Linked DNA regions of Homo sapiens: region 1 is linked to region 2. The links are contacts of gene promoters, found by promoter capture Hi-C in human tissues and cell types (Jung and others, 2019). All regions are on one chromosome and are shown on one strand. Each heading gives the region's core, a stretch centred on a gene start or on the middle of the fragment in contact. The rest is flanking DNA. Distances are from core to core; before and after follow the strand shown.

Region 1 (4,396 bases), core at 77-2,576, 230 kb after region 2:
GTGTAGGTATGAGCATAGGGTGGACCCACTGGAGGCTGAGCAGTTATCTTTGTAATGGTGTCAGAAAGTGTAGGCTGTCTCCTCAATCTTTTCTTCTCTTTCTCCTCTCTCATATGCTCATGTTCACTTTCAAGTTGTAGTTCCATCTCTGCCTCAGTTGCCTAGCTTGTGTGGAAATAGGTGGATGAGCTGATTCTTGCACGATTCATGTGATGTCCCTTCCCAATCTGCCAGGATCTCTCATGTTGGCCTTGGCTCCTGTGAGACAAGCTGCAGGTTCTATTTCTGACTCAGCTAGGGACTCTGAATATGTCCTCCCACACCTAGTCTCTACAGCATGTCCCAGGCCATCACTTATGAACTGAGTTATCACTATTGGACTTGGGCTTTTCTCAGTGAAAACAACTCTCCAAAAGTCCAGAGTTTAAGAAGAGGGGTTAGTCGATTGTCCCGTATCCTATTACTTCCGATCCATTCTCTCATGGGTCATGACCTCAGCCTGGAGATGACCGGAGTCTGTGATTCTAATCAATGATTTTGTTAAGCAGTTCATGGAATAGATATAGCAAGAGCTGTCATGCTCTAAATGACAGAAAATTAACTTGACTAATTTTAATTTTTTCATGTAAACCTCTGAGATGAATATGAGAATATGGAGCAGGGAAAGGCCTGTGATCTTTTGGGAGTAAAGTGAAGGTCTCTGTCCTACTAATACTGTCTGACTCTTCTGGGCTTGGCATGGTGCCAGCTTTTACAGCCAAAGTCAGTGCCTATTGGAACTATTGATCTGGTCAACTAGTATGGGTAGGGTCCCAGCTGCCCTCCAAGGCTGTTCTGACTCTCTTGGGTCTCATTGATGTGGTCACCCCTCAGGGTCTCTCTTATGTCCTCCACCTACATGTCCCAACCCACCTGTTGCATGAGTGAGTCTCTTGGCTTCTTTCTGTCGCTGCAGGAATTTGCAGGTCCTGGCCATGCAAGATGGTGATGGGGACCAGCCTCTAAAGCTTAACCTTCAAGGGTCTGCTGCCTACGTACTTTGCAAACCAAGTTTACTTTGAGGTAGCCAGGTAAGGAAGGAGCAGAGCCAGAAATGATTTCTAGTGCCATAAATTGGAATCTGGACAAAACACACTCTTTTCCAAGTCTACCTTTGATGTACGCAATAATGCTCCTGCCACATATGTACACATCTTAATTCCCAGAACCTGTGAATATGTTAGGTTACCTGGCAAAGGGGAATTCATGCTTCAGAGGTAATTAAGGTTGTATGAAAGAAACTGAGGTAACTAAGGTGCAGGCATTCTAAAGTGGAGCTAGGAGATTGTGAGAGAATTGCACTAACACCTCTAAAAGTCAAACCACAGATTGTGCCAACGGACTTGGATGAACAATGGAAGTTAGTGTCTGCCAGTCTTCAACATTTCTCACCTGGGAGTGCCCTAATTAACTAACCAATTAGTACAGCTCTGTGATTTGGGATTTCTGCTCAGCCAATGAACTGCCTCTTTAAGGGACATGATTCAGGACTCAGACATAAGTAATTTAAAAGTCTGCTCTTCAGGCTATCTTGTTAAAAGGTCAAGTACTAGATTTTTCCCACCTCAGAAACTATGAAAAAAAATGTTAAAATAAGAAATTAATTTCCATTGTTTAATATTTGCAAAACTATTGTCCCCTTTGACTATATAGCTGCCTGTGGCTGTTTTCCTCTCGGGGAGTGTGAGGATGTCAGTCCTGCTCTATGTGAATCTAGCTGAGGAAAGCATGTAGAATGTAGTACTCTGGTCTCTAGGTCTCAACCCAAATCAGTGGGGATTTTTCTTGAAATAATATAGGTGTAATGATGAGAGAGAAAGGTTATACATTGACATACGGCCACTATGTAGGCAAGACTAATCAGCCTGTATGGCATATTACATATAAAATTAGAACACTTTGTCGCTGGGGTTGACTATAGAGAGATGGAGACAGGAACTCCTGCAGAGATTCTGCAGCCACAGGGTACACCTGCTTAAAATGGAGTCCCCACAGCAGAAGGCACAGCTCAGATGCAATGAGAGGAACCGGGTTCTGAAAAAACTGAACCCTAACAAACTATTCCTAAAGCCACTGTGCCTCATTTGGGGCTTTGGGTTATATCATTCAACAAACTGCCATTTCTTCACTTTTTTTTAAAGCCAGGGTAAAAGCAATGTATTATGCATATGGAAAAATCTTTCTTGAGTATTTTCTCAAGAGAATACTCTCTTGAGTATTCTCAAGAGTCTAAGTAATAAAAGTAAGGAGGTCAAAGTTTGCCTACTCATGAAAGGGCCAGATAGAATATATACACAATGTAGGTAAGAAAAAAAATTAGCTTAATATATTTAACTGACAGTTGATCAAGCACACCTGCTGGTTCAGGCAGGTGTCAATGCCAGAAAACACTATTCAGGTAGGATATGTGTGTCAGGAATGCAGTGCTCAGTAGGACTACTCAATAAATTAAAAAGTAAAAGTTTTAGAAGAACTCAGAAATTTTCTAACTATATTGCAGAAATTTGAATTACTTTTAGTATTTTTGTTGTTACATTTACATATCTTTCAATGGAGGCAATGAAACATGTTACTTTTCAAAATTGCTTTTAAACCAAATGGAAATCTTAGTTTTAAATGTTTTAAGAGGATATGTGTTGTCATATTTGGCCTAACAGTATTATTTTTATTAACATTCTGATATATTATTATAAATATCTGCTAAAGAGAAAGTTTGAAAAATGCCTTGTTCAAGAATTATTTAGAAGTGCATGAATACTTTGAACACTTTTTAAATTATATAGGTGGGGTCTTCCTTTAAATAACTGCAAGTAAGTTCTAAAACATGTATGTCTGTATTTCATGTAGTTCATTCATGTTACAAAAACTTGTTACTAAGTCTTTGTAAAATGAATGAACTCTTGTGTTTCATTCATGTTACAAAAACAGTAATGTGGCATTATAATTTCAGTTTGAACTTCATCCTTGAGTATGTACTTAAAACAACAACAAAAATGTGGTGTTTGTCCTTAAATGCTCATTAACTATTTTAATGATCAGAATAACTTATAACTAAGACAAGAATATTTAGTCTAAATTTTTTTATTCATTCACTTAACATATTGTGTCCCTACTATGTGTAAAACACAGAAACAATTATTACGATTTGTTTTAACAGAAAGGAAATGGAAAGAATTATGAAAGTGTTCTCCAAAAATATTTCTTTATCATTGTTCTAAGTGTACCTAAAACTTCTTTGTTTTTCATACTGTAAATAAAGGAGTCTGCAGAGGAATTATAATCATGTAGAACGGAAAATACATTTCATTCCACTGTTAATCTGGGCCAGACCTGGGGCACCCATACATGAAGAAGACACTGCTATAGAACAAAGAGACAGAGAGCAGGTGGGCACTGCACATGAGGAAGCTTTTGCTTCTGCCCTTCTCAGAATTCTTTTTCAGTAAGGCAAAGAGGACTTGGGTATAAGAAACTATGATGATCATAAAAGCAAAAGCTTGTATAAAAGCAGTGAAAACCACAAAATCACTAATGAGTTAATAAATGGATCAATGTAAGAAATTGTATATTGTACACTGAAAAAATGGTAAGATTTTTTTAAAATACATATTATTTCTTGAGGGTTATAGAGGAGATTCTAGACAAGAACTAACTAGTCCCATAGCCTGCCACTCATAAGTACCTTAAAATTGAATGTATTAACAACGAAGTGTTTTAAGAGCAAAAGGTACACGGTATATTTTATGCCAAAATCTTAGAAAATGAGACTTTGTTTTGGGTTCAAAAGTGTATTTTCTCATTCTTTCAGGAACTTTTTTATCTTTCTAGAACAAAAAATGATCTGATCCTCTTGGTATTACAAACGGGACTATCACAGTCAAGGTGGAATAAAACATTACAAAAACATCATAGTAGAAAGAATGGCCAGTGTTTTGAATATCTGGATTCAATTTAAGTGATAAGTTAAATAGTAAATTATAAATTTTATTTAAATAACAAATTAAATGGGGAGAAAGGATTAACCAAATTAATAGGCAATGACTAACATAAACATAGGTAAGGCAATGCAGAAAAAGCCTCAAGCTAAAAGTGTATCCATGAGTTTTACAAGCCTGGAAAGTAAATGGAAAGGAAACTAAACGAGATCCTGTGGAAACACAGGGTGAAAAAATATGTCTGTATCATCAATACATGTCTTTAATGACAAACTTTGCATAATTCCGGACATAAAATATGTTTTACATATTCAAATCCCTGCCTTGTTGATCTAAAGCAGGAACTACCTACTTATAAAACAGTAGGCCTAAGTATACAACCATTCAAGGGAACATTTATAAGTATTAGATTTACAACTCTT
Region 2 (4,236 bases), core at 1,049-3,548:
ACTGGACACGATGAGATCATATCATTTTAGCATTATTTGATCTTTGGCAATATGCATTTAAGGCCACTTTTTATCCATAACAAATGCTAATAATTATGGAAATATTACTGATTTCCTTTTCTTATTGTTTTCATTTTTTTAATGCTAGAAAAATTGATACCATTTACTTTCTATTCTGGCATTTTTCTTCTCTACATCCATGCTAACTTAATTTTTAAATTATCTATTAGCTTTCTGAATTCGTTAGCAATATGAATCTTTTCATGTTTTCCAGTGTCATACAAATACAACTGTAAAAGGCCTCTGAAGGCATCGTCAATAAAGAGAGGCAAGTTGCCTTTTCTTATTACTCATAGAAAGGAATAGAGATAAAAGTACCCTCTTAGAGTTTGGCCTTGCATTGACGGTTTTAACTCACTTCTCATTTTATGATTGCATTTCCCATTCTATTTATTGCTTCAAGTGATATATGAGTTAAATTCTTATAAGAAGTGAAGTTTGCCAATTCCATAATCTAGAGTAAAAGACCTTTTGAGGGACAGCTGATTCCTGAGATCTTTATCGGCTCAACCAAACACAAATCTGCCACCACAATCCAGTTAAATGTGATGTTTCCACACTATACAATTCTGTCAGCTGTATTATATTTCCTACTCAAATACTTTTGAGAGGAACTACAGTGCTTTAACACTTAAGGCATTTATAAAGCCACATGAAGAGTATTTAACCTATAAATGTTTTCATTTGTTTTCTGCTTTAATTATCTAATATAACATGAACACCAGGTTAAAATTCCTTGGATGCTTTTGAATAACATATATAAATATTTTAAGGAGTTTATTAGGTATAAAACCCTAAGTCATTAAAATGCTAAAACAATTATATTTACAATAACTTTGAACACTTAGCAAAACACCTTATCTAACTGCAAAATTCTTTTTACTGAAAATGAGAGATATCACTATGAAATCTAAACATTTCTTTTTACCATTTTTGTGAATGAATCTATTACTTGTTTATTTCTCAGACTGTAGATAATGGGATTTAGCAAAGGAATTATGATTGTATAAAAGACAGAGTCTATCATATCTTGGTCATCTGCTTGTGGAGATGCAGGGCGCAAATACATGAAGATAAGTGGGCCATAATATAAAGAGACAGATAAGAGATGGGCTCCACAGGTGGAAAAGGCTTTCCTTACGCCTCTAACAGACTTCTTTTTTAGGATTGTGAAAAGAGCAAATGTGTAAGAATTAAGAACTGTCACAATGGTGAATACCTGAATTGAGCCAGACAAAATAAAAACCATTAGAAAATTAATAGAAGGGTCAGTACAGGAAATCATAAACAGTGGTATAATATCACAGTAAAAATGATGTATTATGTTAGAATTGCAGAAGGTTAATCTGAATATAAGGACTTCATGAATTAAGGCATGGAGGAAGCCACCTAAAAATGAGAAGGCTAACAGCCGTATGCATAGTGAATTGTTCATAATCACTGGATATAGTAAAGGTTTGCATATGGCTACATAGCGATCATATGCCATTGTTGCCAAGAGAAAACATTCTGTAGTTCCACCAAATGCAAAGGAAAAAAATTGAATCATGCATTCAGACAGAGATATCATCCTGTTTTTGGCCAAGAAATTAACCAACATTTTGGGAGTTACTGTGGAAGATATCCAAGCATCAACAAAGGCTAAACTCCCAAGAAAAAAGTACATGGGGATGTGAAGTTGTGGGTCATTCCAGATAAGAGCAATCAGACCAAGGTTCCACACAATAGTGATGAGATAGATCACCAAGAACACCAAGAACAGGGGCATTTTCCACTCTGGCTGATATGTAAGTCCTGTGAGAACAAACTCTGTCAGCAATGTTGTATTATCCTGTTCCATGTCCTCATTCGACATCCCTGAAATGAAATGCAGTAAATGTAAAAGAGCATTCACTAAGACTTATACAGCAAATACTGGGGGAGGGAAGTTGATAGAAAAACATACTCTTATTACAATACCCTTTTAATTTTCTTTCATATTCCTGTAATAGATGGAAACTGTTTTGGGAAATATAAGAAATCAAAATAAATGCAATTATTTTAATTCTAAAAATGTGATCAAATAATCTACTTTTAAAATGCAGATGATAGAAATGCATGTAATGTGTGTTAACTTAAGAAAATCACTATTTGTAAATTTAGAAAAGGAGAGAAGACTTATTTCTTATAAGGGGTTACAGCCTGCAAGGTGGCCATCAAGTGTGCTGGGAAGCATGCCTCTGGCCAAGACCAGAAACAGGCACATCAAAGGAGGAGGGCTTGAGGTAGGAGCTTTAGGCTAAATAAGTTGGCTAAATATACATATTCAACAGGTTACGGGAGGATCTATGAGTATTCATGAAGGTAGCCTTGGCACATGCATATTGAACATGTATGTAACATACAACCCATGTTCACATTGGAGTGGAGACTTAACATTTAAATTTGTTACAGTTAGGCCCTATACATCAAAAGGTCTTCTCAGGACATGAAGGCCCATAAATGCACTGTCTCTGTAAACCAGCCAGAACCAGTCCGTGGTCAGTTTTCCTCTTATCTGGAGAAAGTTACTGACATCAGTCTCTTGTCCAATCAAAGCTGTAGTTATGTCTGGTAGCAGGGGTTCAGTTACTGAGCATCTGGTGCAGCTGCAAATTGTTTTAATCCTGCTTGTCTTGAGGCCAGTGCCTGTTTAGCTACTAGAGAAAAAGAAAAACCTTGTGGCAGTTAGAACACAGTTTATTCTTTAAGTGTAGAGGTGCCTGACTTAAACCTTGCCTGGTGTGGCCTTAGGTTCTGTTTATAATTTGGAATCTTATTGTCACAAAGAATATGTTCTGTCAGTCTTATAATCTCTATCTTAACATTAATACCGGTCAGTTGTCATGTCTAAATTGCAAAAGAGAGGAAGTATAACAAGGCACATCTGACTTCCCACCCTGTCATGGCTGAGAACTAAGTTTTTACAGTTTTTCTGGAGAACTTTTGGCCAAGAGGGGGTTCGTTCTGTTGATGGGGGGCTTTGAATTTTAAGTTTGCAAGTGCCTAGTCCATGTGTATTATAATCTTGCAAATAATGAGGATGAAGAAATAGATTCTAAAGCATTCAGAAAGTAGTGTCACTAGGACTTAGTCACATATTTGATAGAAAAGTAGTATTCAGTGAAGGAAAAAGGAGTCACTTTGTGAGTAGGTAGATTGTCATTCAAAATAGAGACTGAGAACTCAGGGGCATTGACAAGTTTGCAGTGTGAGCATGCCTTGAATATGTAGGTGAGATGTTTGGTATTAGTAATACAATTCTACTAGAGTGATAGAAATAACTTGGGAGTCACTGGAGTAGTTGAAGGCATAGTAATGGATGTCTTACCTATTGGAGAGTACATTAAGAAAAGAAAAGCATAGCACCAAAAATACTTGATAGTATAATGACCTAATTTCCTTTGGGTATATACCCAGTAATGGGATTGTTGGGTCAAATGGTAGCTTTGTTTCAAATTGTTGAGAAATCTCCAGGCTGCTTTCCACAGTGGCTGAACTAAAGTATTTCCACCAACAGTGTATAAGCCTTTCCTTTTCTCCACAGCCTCATCAGCATGTTTTGTTTTTTAATAATAGCCATTATGACTGGTGTGAAATGGTATCTCATTGTGATTTTGATTTGCATTCCTCTGATGATTAATGATGAGCATTTCTTTTTTATGTGTGTTGACTGCCTGTATGTCTTCTTTGGAGAAGGATCTGTTCATGTCCTTTGCTTATTTGTTAATAGGGTTACATTTTTTTGCTTGCTGATTTGTTTAAGTTCCTTATAGATTCTGATATTAGACCTTTATTGGATGCATAGTTTGCAAATATTTTCTGTCATTCTGTAGGTTGTCTGTGTACTCTATTGATGATTTCTTTTGCTGTGCAGAAGTTCTTTACCTTAATTAGGTCACACTTGTCAATTTTTGTTTTCATTGCAATTGCTTCTGAGGACTTAGCCGAAAATTCTTTGCTAAGGCTGATGTTGAGAAGAATACTTCCTAGGTTTTCGTCTAGGATTTTTACATTTTGAAGTCTTACATTTAAATATTTAATCCATCTTGAATAAATTTTTGTGTATGATGAAAGGAAAGGATTCAGTTTCATTCTTCCACATATGGCTAGCCGCCATGACAGCACCGTTTACTGAATAGGGTATCCTTTCTCTGT

The links. The method cuts DNA at HindIII sites, captures the fragments that hold promoters and counts their contacts. A contact is called where the count stands out against the background at its distance.
Region 1: a fragment that was not itself captured here is called in contact with the fragment with the promoter of OR5H2 in region 2 in 4 of the 25 tissues and cell types used here (bladder, lymphoblastoid cells, mesenchymal stem cells and 1 more).

Annotation. Positions count from the first base shown.
Region 1 is chr3:98,052,582-98,056,977 of GRCh38, reverse strand. It overlaps the pseudogene OR5BM1P. Among named protein-coding and RNA genes, the nearest start is that of GABRR3, 19 kb to the right of the region's middle. The HindIII fragment of the contact is 5,422 bases long and covers 1-4,037 here.
Region 2 is chr3:98,280,567-98,284,802 of GRCh38, reverse strand. OR5H2 (olfactory receptor family 5 subfamily H member 2) reads right to left here and starts at 2,298. Exons shown (of 1, transcript NM_001005482.2): 1 at 733-2,298. The coding sequence starts at 1,900. The coding sequence ends at 971. The region is part of intron 1 of LOC105373999 (a long non-coding RNA gene); the gene reads left to right. The HindIII fragment of the contact is 8,138 bases long and covers 1-4,236 here.